Linked DNA regions of Homo sapiens: all the other regions are linked to region 3. The links are contacts of gene promoters, found by promoter capture Hi-C in human tissues and cell types (Jung and others, 2019). All regions are on one chromosome and are shown on one strand. The core of a region is centred on a gene start or on the middle of the fragment in contact, and the rest is flanking DNA. Distances in the headings are between cores, read along the strand shown.

What was found. The method cuts DNA at HindIII sites, captures the fragments that hold promoters and counts their contacts. A contact is called where the count stands out against the background at its distance.
Region 1: a fragment that was not itself captured here is called in contact with the fragment with the promoter of FAM169A in region 3 in 1 of the 25 tissues and cell types used here (heart left ventricle).
Region 2: a fragment that was not itself captured here is called in contact with the fragment with the promoter of FAM169A in region 3 in 1 of the 25 tissues and cell types used here (hippocampus).

What each region holds. Positions count from the first base shown.
Region 1 is chr5:73,568,747-73,571,446 of GRCh38, forward strand. It overlaps UTP15 (UTP15 small subunit processome component), which reads left to right. Exons shown (of 13, transcript NM_032175.4): 5 at 751-929; 6 at 1,840-1,965. Among named protein-coding and RNA genes, the nearest start is that of UTP15, 4.4 kb to the left of the region's middle. The HindIII fragment of the contact is 7,294 bases long and covers 1-2,700 here.
Region 2 is chr5:76,733,361-76,736,060 of GRCh38, forward strand. It overlaps F2R (coagulation factor II thrombin receptor), which reads left to right. Exons shown (of 2, transcript NM_001992.5): 2 at 1-2,410. The coding sequence ends at 143. Among named protein-coding and RNA genes, the nearest start is that of F2R, 19 kb to the left of the region's middle. The HindIII fragment of the contact is 3,178 bases long and covers 1-2,700 here.
Region 3 is chr5:74,864,944-74,867,643 of GRCh38, forward strand. It overlaps FAM169A (family with sequence similarity 169 member A), which reads right to left and starts at 1,444. Exons shown (of 13, transcript NM_001376049.1): 1 at 1,222-1,444. It overlaps FAM169A-AS1 (FAM169A antisense RNA 1), which reads left to right and starts at 950. Exons shown (of 1, transcript NR_134288.1): 1 at 950-2,332. RefSeq lists silencers at 891-1,060, 1,131-1,380. The HindIII fragment of the contact is 6,065 bases long and covers 1-2,700 here.

The sequences.
Region 1 (2,700 bases), core at 72-2,571, 1.3 Mb before region 3:
GTGCTTAACTTGGGTTCCGTGGTCCAGTTTCATGGGGCTTATGAATTCCCTAGAATTGTATGTGATATTTTAGGAAATACACGTTTATCTAGGGAGCTACTCTGTAGCTTTTGGTTAACTTTAGTGGGGTCTGTGGCCCAGCTGAGATTATGAATTACTGACCTGAAGACAACCTTACAGCTGGTAATGACAGCTCTATAGGCCTGTACTGTCTTAGAGGCTCTTATGTTGAAGTCAAGTAGGAAGGTGGATTTTCTTCTTGAATTTATAGTGTTTTGCCCCTTAATAAATTAAGTGGCCATCACAATTTTATATTATAACTTTGTTTTCAGGATTGCCAATGTCCGTGCTGAAATTTGTTAAAATTTAACAGAAATTTATGTAACATGATTCTATTTAGTGGTAAATCTCTTTAGAGTTTTTTAAAGAACTTTTTGAAATTTTAAAAATTAAAGTGCCTTTGCTTCCATATTCAGCAGCTAAGTGGAATTGTTTATATACTAGAAAATATAATTTTAAGGCTATCCTTTAATTTTTTTTAACTTTACAATATAGGAGTATTTACACTTCTTAATTGGTTTGGGGGCAAACACTTGTAAGTTTTCTCTTTCTTTCATGATTTCCCCCTATGAAGACTCCCTGAAACTCAGCTGCTTTTTTTTTAATCTGAGAAAAAGGAGCATTTTATGTTAGAAGGTATCAGAAAAATAATTTTCTTGCTTTTTAATATACTGACCTTCAATCTTTCAGAGCAGTTCATACAGTAGATTTTACAGCTGACAAATATCACGTGGTCTCTGGGGCTGATGATTATACAGTTAAATTATGGGATATTCCAAACTCCAAAGAAATTTTGACATTTAAAGAACACTCTGATTATGTGAGGTGTGGATGTGCTAGCAAACTTAATCCGGATCTCTTTATAACAGGTTGGTGAACTCTATTCCCTCCTGAAGCAAATAATCTCACGGGGATGTACTTTAATGTTGCTATGGGACTCTTTTGGGATGGAGGGGTTTAAATTTTTTTTATAAAGGAATATGTTTCTGATTAATTCTTCAGTTTTTAAATTAATTTTTATGTATGTATGTTTGCATTTATTTTCAGACAGGGTCTCACTCTGTTGCCCAGGCTGGAGTGCAGTGATGTGACCATAGCTCACTGCATCTGCTACCTCCTGGGCTCAAGTGATCCTCCCACATAAGCCTCCCAAGTAGCTGGGACTACAGGTGCCCACCACCACGTCCAGCTACTTTGTGTATTTTTTTGTAGAGACGGTTTTGCCATGTTGCCCAGGCTGGTCTCGAACTCCTGGGCTCAAGTGATCCACCTACCTCAATTTCCTCCCGGAGGACTGGGATTACAAGTGTGAGCCACCATGCCTGGCTTCCAATTGTTTTTTATTTTCTTATTCTTCTTTTGTTGATTGTTCATGTCTTCCAAATGTGTTTGGAAAAATCAGGCTGTCTTGAAAACATAATAGACTCTCAGAACTGTAATGTATAGTACCCTGCCTCAAGCAGCCAAGAAACAAAGAGTGCAGTTTAGCCTTTGTGGGTGCCTTTACAAAGATTTCCAGATGATTCAGTAGTGACAGTAGTCCAAAGAAAGAAATATTTTAAGATCAGAGCAAGTTAGATTCTGTATAGTATTATGTAGTGCTTCTTCAGACACGATCAGTAGTAGATGGTTTGGAGGTCCTGTGTCTTCATGAATATACATATATGTCTTTTTAAAACTCCATCTAAGCTTTTTTTCCTTTTAAAATTTATATCTGGATACACACAGTTTTTGTTGTTTTAAACAGTCAAACTAAAAATTCAAAAATTGACATTTTAGGATCATATGATCATACTGTGAAGATGTTTGATGCACGAACGAGTGAGAGTGTTCTCTCCGTTGAGCATGGGCAGCCAGTGGAGAGTGTCCTACTTTTCCCCTCTGGAGGTCTTCTGGTGTCAGCAGGTACTTCTTAAAAATAGCTTTCACCAATATTGTTGGTTTTGAATCACGTTTGTTTAAAATCAGTTGCTCTTTGTAATTTATCAGTGTGCATTTGAATTGCATATCTAAGTCTTTGTTCAAACAGTTGATAGGTAGGACTGGCAAGCAGTTATCATTTATTGTGTACCTAATGTGAGCCAGGCACTGTGCTGTTACATATGAACTCTAATGCCCTAGATGATGCTACAAGGTAGTTAGCTTTTTCCCTACTTTACAGCAATGAAATAAAAGTTTTAACTTATTTTTCAAGGCAAAGTGGTAAGTGGCAGATCTGAAATCACAGAACTCGAGAGCTCTGTGTATTTAGCCCTGTGCCATCTTATTTATTTAGCCCTGTGCCATCTTATTTAACCCCAGAAATTTAGCCCTGTGCCATCTTATTTAACCCCAGAAATTTAGCTCTTATGTATTTAGCCCTGTGCCATCTTATTTAACCCCAGAAATTTAGCTCATACTCCTTTTACTCCTACCTAAGAGATCTGCAGCAGCTTTTGAAAATCAGTTATTTGAGATCTAGTAGGCTTGTCTCTTTTTCTGTGACTCTCTTGATTGAAATGCCACTACCCAGCAAATAGCTGCTAGTACTAGAGAAAGGAGATAATGTGGCCTCAAAAGGGGCCTTGGTACATTTTTCAACAAGTTGGGACTGAGATGTTTTTCTCATTTTGCACATATTGCATTTTCATAATTACAGTG
Region 2 (2,700 bases), core at 172-2,671, 1.9 Mb after region 3:
AGAGGTACGTCTACAGTATCTTATGCTGCAAAGAAAGTTCCGATCCCAGCAGTTATAACAGCAGTGGGCAGTTGATGGCAAGTAAAATGGATACCTGCTCTAGTAACCTGAATAACAGCATATACAAAAAGCTGTTAACTTAGGAAAAGGGACTGCTGGGAGGTTAAAAAGAAAAGTTTATAAAAGTGAATAACCTGAGGATTCTATTAGTCCCCACCCAAACTTTATTGATTCACCTCCTAAAACAACAGATGTACGACTTGCATACCTGCTTTTTATGGGAGCTGTCAAGCATGTATTTTTGTCAATTACCAGAAAGATAACAGGACGAGATGACGGTGTTATTCCAAGGGAATATTGCCAATGCTACAGTAATAAATGAATGTCACTTCTGGATATAGCTAGGTGACATATACATACTTACATGTGTGTATATGTAGATGTATGCACACACATATATTATTTGCAGTGCAGTATAGAATAGGCACTTTAAAACACTCTTTCCCCGCACCCCAGCAATTATGAAAATAATCTCTGATTCCCTGATTTAATATGCAAAGTCTAGGTTGGTAGAGTTTAGCCCTGAACATTTCATGGTGTTCATCAACAGTGAGAGACTCCATAGTTTGGGCTTGTACCACTTTTGCAAATAAGTGTATTTTGAAATTGTTTGACGGCAAGGTTTAAGTTATTAAGAGGTAAGACTTAGTACTATCTGTGCGTAGAAGTTCTAGTGTTTTCAATTTTAAACATATCCAAGTTTGAATTCCTAAAATTATGGAAACAGATGAAAAGCCTCTGTTTTGATATGGGTAGTATTTTTTACATTTTACACACTGTACACATAAGCCAAAACTGAGCATAAGTCCTCTAGTGAATGTAGGCTGGCTTTCAGAGTAGGCTATTCCTGAGAGCTGCATGTGTCCGCCCCCGATGGAGGACTCCAGGCAGCAGACACATGCCAGGGCCATGTCAGACACAGATTGGCCAGAAACCTTCCTGCTGAGCCTCACAGCAGTGAGACTGGGGCCACTACATTTGCTCCATCCTCCTGGGATTGGCTGTGAACTGATCATGTTTATGAGAAACTGGCAAAGCAGAATGTGATATCCTAGGAGGTAATGACCATGAAAGACTTCTCTACCCATCTTAAAAACAACGAAAGAAGGCATGGACTTCTGGATGCCCATCCACTGGGTGTAAACACATCTAGTAGTTGTTCTGAAATGTCAGTTCTGATATGGAAGCACCCATTATGCGCTGTGGCCACTCCAATAGGTGCTGAGTGTACAGAGTGGAATAAGACAGAGACCTGCCCTCAAGAGCAAAGTAGATCATGCATAGAGTGTGATGTATGTGTAATAAATATGTTTCACACAAACAAGGCCTGTCAGCTAAAGAAGTTTGAACATTTGGGTTACTATTTCTTGTGGTTATAACTTAATGAAAACAATGCAGTACAGGACATATATTTTTTAAAATAAGTCTGATTTAATTGGGCACTATTTATTTACAAATGTTTTGCTCAATAGATTGCTCAAATCAGGTTTTCTTTTAAGAATCAATCATGTCAGTCTGCTTAGAAATAACAGAAGAAAATAGAATTGACATTGAAATCTAGGAAAATTATTCTATAATTTCCATTTACTTAAGACTTAATGAGACTTTAAAAGCATTTTTTAACCTCCTAAGTATCAAGTATAGAAAATCTTCATGGAATTCACAAAGTAATTTGGAAATTAGGTTGAAACATATCTCTTATCTTACGAAAAAATGGTAGCATTTTAAACAAAATAGAAAGTTGCAAGGCAAATGTTTATTTAAAAGAGCAGGCCAGGCGCGGTGGCTCACGCCTGTAATCCCAGCACTTTGGGAGGCTGAGGCGGGTGGATCACGAGGTCAGGAGATCGAGACCATCCTGGCTAACACGGTGAAACCCGTCTCTACTAAAAATGCAAAAAAAATTAGCCGGGCGTGGTGGCAGGCACCTGTAGTCCCAGCTACTCGGGAGGCTGAGGCAGGAGACTGGCGTGAACCCAGGAGGCGGACCTTGTAGTGAGCCGAGATCGCGCCACTGTGCTCCAGCCTGGGCAACAGAGCAAGACTCCATCTCAAAAAATAAAAATAAATAAAAAATAAAAAAATAAAAGAGCAAACTATTTCCAAATACCATAGAATAACTTACATAAAAGTAATATAACTGTATTGTAAGTAGAAGCTAGCACTGGTTTTATTAATTTAGTGACTATTCATTTTATCTAAATCAGTGAAGATTTACTGTCATTGTTTATTAGTCTGTATATATTAAAATATGATATCATTAATGTACTTACAAAATAGTATGTCACTGTTTTTATGTTCATTCTTAAAAACATAACCTGTATTAATAAATGTGAACATTTGCTTGGTATCTCTTTGGAACAAATTAGTATTATATCTTTCTGGTCCTGGCACACTTTAAGGGTTTAACTGAAGAGCATTTAATGAAGAGGTGATTTACAAAGGTGTAGACAGGGTTAAGGGAACCAACGGGGACTGGTGAAGCACCCCCCAGAGACTAGCAATCAGGGGAAGCCATTACTGCCAAGGCCCAGGTACAGGAGGGAACACACTGACGCCTCTCCCTCACCCTCTGATCTCTTGGGAGGCCTCCCCTTGATCCTAATCTTAACCCAATACCCAGAGTGAAGTAGTCCATAA
Region 3 (2,700 bases), core at 194-2,693:
TAGCACGATAAGGGACGTAGTTTGCAAAGATCATCTGTACATCCTGTGTAAAAAATAAAAACGCATGGCACACCAAACCCAGATCCACTTCGGTGAATTCCCTCCAGGGCCCAAATGTGTGCATTATGCAACAGCCAGCACTCCCGATTGTAATCCCTGTCTGTGATGCAATGACAAAATATAAATGGCTTGGGTATAATCTGCTCAGTTCGTAAGTAGTAATTCGCAAGAAGCCAACGAATTAAAAGAATTCCCAAATTCTCAGGAACCTTGAAAATGACAAATTGTGTCACAGTTCTGTGAGAATCACAATGAAAACTTTCCCTTCTGGAAATTTTTTAGAAATATGTCCCTCCGGTCCCAATCCCCCAAAAACCCGTACACACGTTTTAATTTACGTTAGGAACGGCTCTCCCAGCGGGGGAAGGTGACCTGCATCAGGTGGTTATCTTCGAATCCACCCGATACGATACCCACGCCGCTTCCCAGACGCTGAAAAGCCAGTGAGATGCTTCATCCTTTCTCCCCAAGGACAGTCATGGGAGTCAGTGTAATCCAGACCCCCGAGCCATAAACCACCCAGGGTTCAAGGCTTCACCTCCTGAGGCACAGGCCTCTTGAAAAATGGCATAATGGAGAGCTGAGAACACAATTAGGACAAAACTGCAACGACCAGCATTCCAGAGGAGGGAGAATCATACAATATCTGTTCCAAAAGTAGTTACAGGTAAAGGAAGGCGGTCAGAGCATCTCTGGAGGCCACCTGGTCGGGTGAACCGAGTCTAAACGCTGAAGTTCCACACCTCCCCGAGTCCGCGTCTCCCCAAGCCAAAGCAATCAGCTCGCACGCCAAGCATCCAGGTGGGGAGAGGGCGAGGGGAGGGGGCGGCAAGCCGCAGCTGCGAACCGGCCCGCGGCGGAGGCGAGCGAAGACGGGCATTCCCTCACACAAAATGGTGGCGCCGAGGCGGAGGCCGGCGCACCTGGGGGCGCCACACGCCCTACGGGATCCCCGCAGACCGCCGCCAGCTGGACGCGAGCCCCGGGTCCAGGCGGCCCGCACTGGTCTGCGCCAGGCCCAGCCCGCAGGGGCCGCCCACAGCCGGTGGCCCGCGTCGCCGCTCGGTGTCCGCGGGTCTGGTGCTGGCGGGGGCGCGGGGCCCGGCGCGGCCGTCTCGGCCTCACCCAGCGGTCCGCGCCGGGGAGAGGGAGCGCACTCACCTCAGACGCGCCCCGGGAGCCGCTGGAAGAGCCCGGGAAAGGAGGCGGAGCCGCGCGAATGAATGGAGCCGGCGGCTGCTCGCTGGCGACCTCCGGCCGGTCCCAGGCCGCACAGCTCGCGGCTGCCAGGGCGAGTGCGGCTGCCTCCCGCTCGCCCCGGACGCCCGGCTCCTCGTCGCGGGTCGGCCGCGGCCCACCGTGCCCTCCGACGACGTGACGCACTAGCGCCGCAGCGCCTCCAGCCTTCGCTTCCGCTCCGCGCCCGCGCCCACCGCGAATCCCCCCGCCCGCCAGCGCGGAGCGGCCCCTCCTCGGAGCCTGGGACGCCGCCCTGCCTCCCTCCAGCCCCGGCTTTCAGGCGCCGGCCCGGCAGGTGCGGGCTTGGCCAGCCCGGGGGCGTCACGCGGCCCCCGCCTCGCCACCCGCGCCCCCTCTCTCCGCCCCGGCCGCCGTCACCCGGCAGCGCGACGCCCAGCTCAGGGCAATGGCCTGGTATTAAAGAGTGACCTTGGCTTAGATATAAAAATAGATGCGGTTAAGCCGCGGGGGCTGCAACGCTGATTTTGCGTATTCCTTTAATGCCGACCTTCGCAGGATTCTGTTCGCATAGCCCGGTGGAGTTCTCCAGCCCCGCGTAGGCCCTCCTGAAATTTACCCAGAGTGGGCGCGGCCATCCCGGCCTCGGGACAGGGGTGCAGAGGGCACGGGCGAGGACCGCCGGCCTCCGCCCCACCACTTTCATCCTAAACCTACTGCCACTTAGGTGCATGCAAGTTAGAATCGTGGGCTGCTTTCACAGTCTACAGAAGTCCTAGAGCCCGGACTTTCATCTGGAGATGTCAGGGAAATACCACATTCCTGCGCTGACCTTTTCTCTTTCACCGTTTAACCGGTACAGAATAACCCTGACCCAGAAAGACAACAGGGTTCCATCCGGCTTTCCTCCCGTGCCTCTCCCAGCTCTATTCTACCGTCTTATGGCCTCTGGCGCCTTTGCTAATTACACACTCCTACTGAAAATTAGCCCTCCAGCATTTAAAACATGATAAATTGTCTTTAAGGTAATGCGTATTGTAGTCTAAATATATTTAATAACTGTATTGAGAAACAATATTGTATCTAAGTATTAATGTCAAGACTTTCTTTTACTCATCATCCAAGAACCGTAGTATTATGTTCAGCTCATCCAGAAAAGTTGAAAATTGCTTCTTTCATTCCTGGGAAATATTTAGCAATCACAATACCAACTTTCACGAATTTACTAATGATTAGCAAAATTAGCAAGATCAAAAAATACTTCAAAGAATGCTTGTTGATATAGATATATTTGACCCTGATTTTTAAAAAAAGCTTTTCTGCCATATAAGAATCTATTGTTTCATTTGTATAATATTTAATTAGCCAAAATCTTTACTATTACACATCATTTACCATTTTAATGAAACTTAATGAATTAGATTTAATAGAGCAGGAATTTTG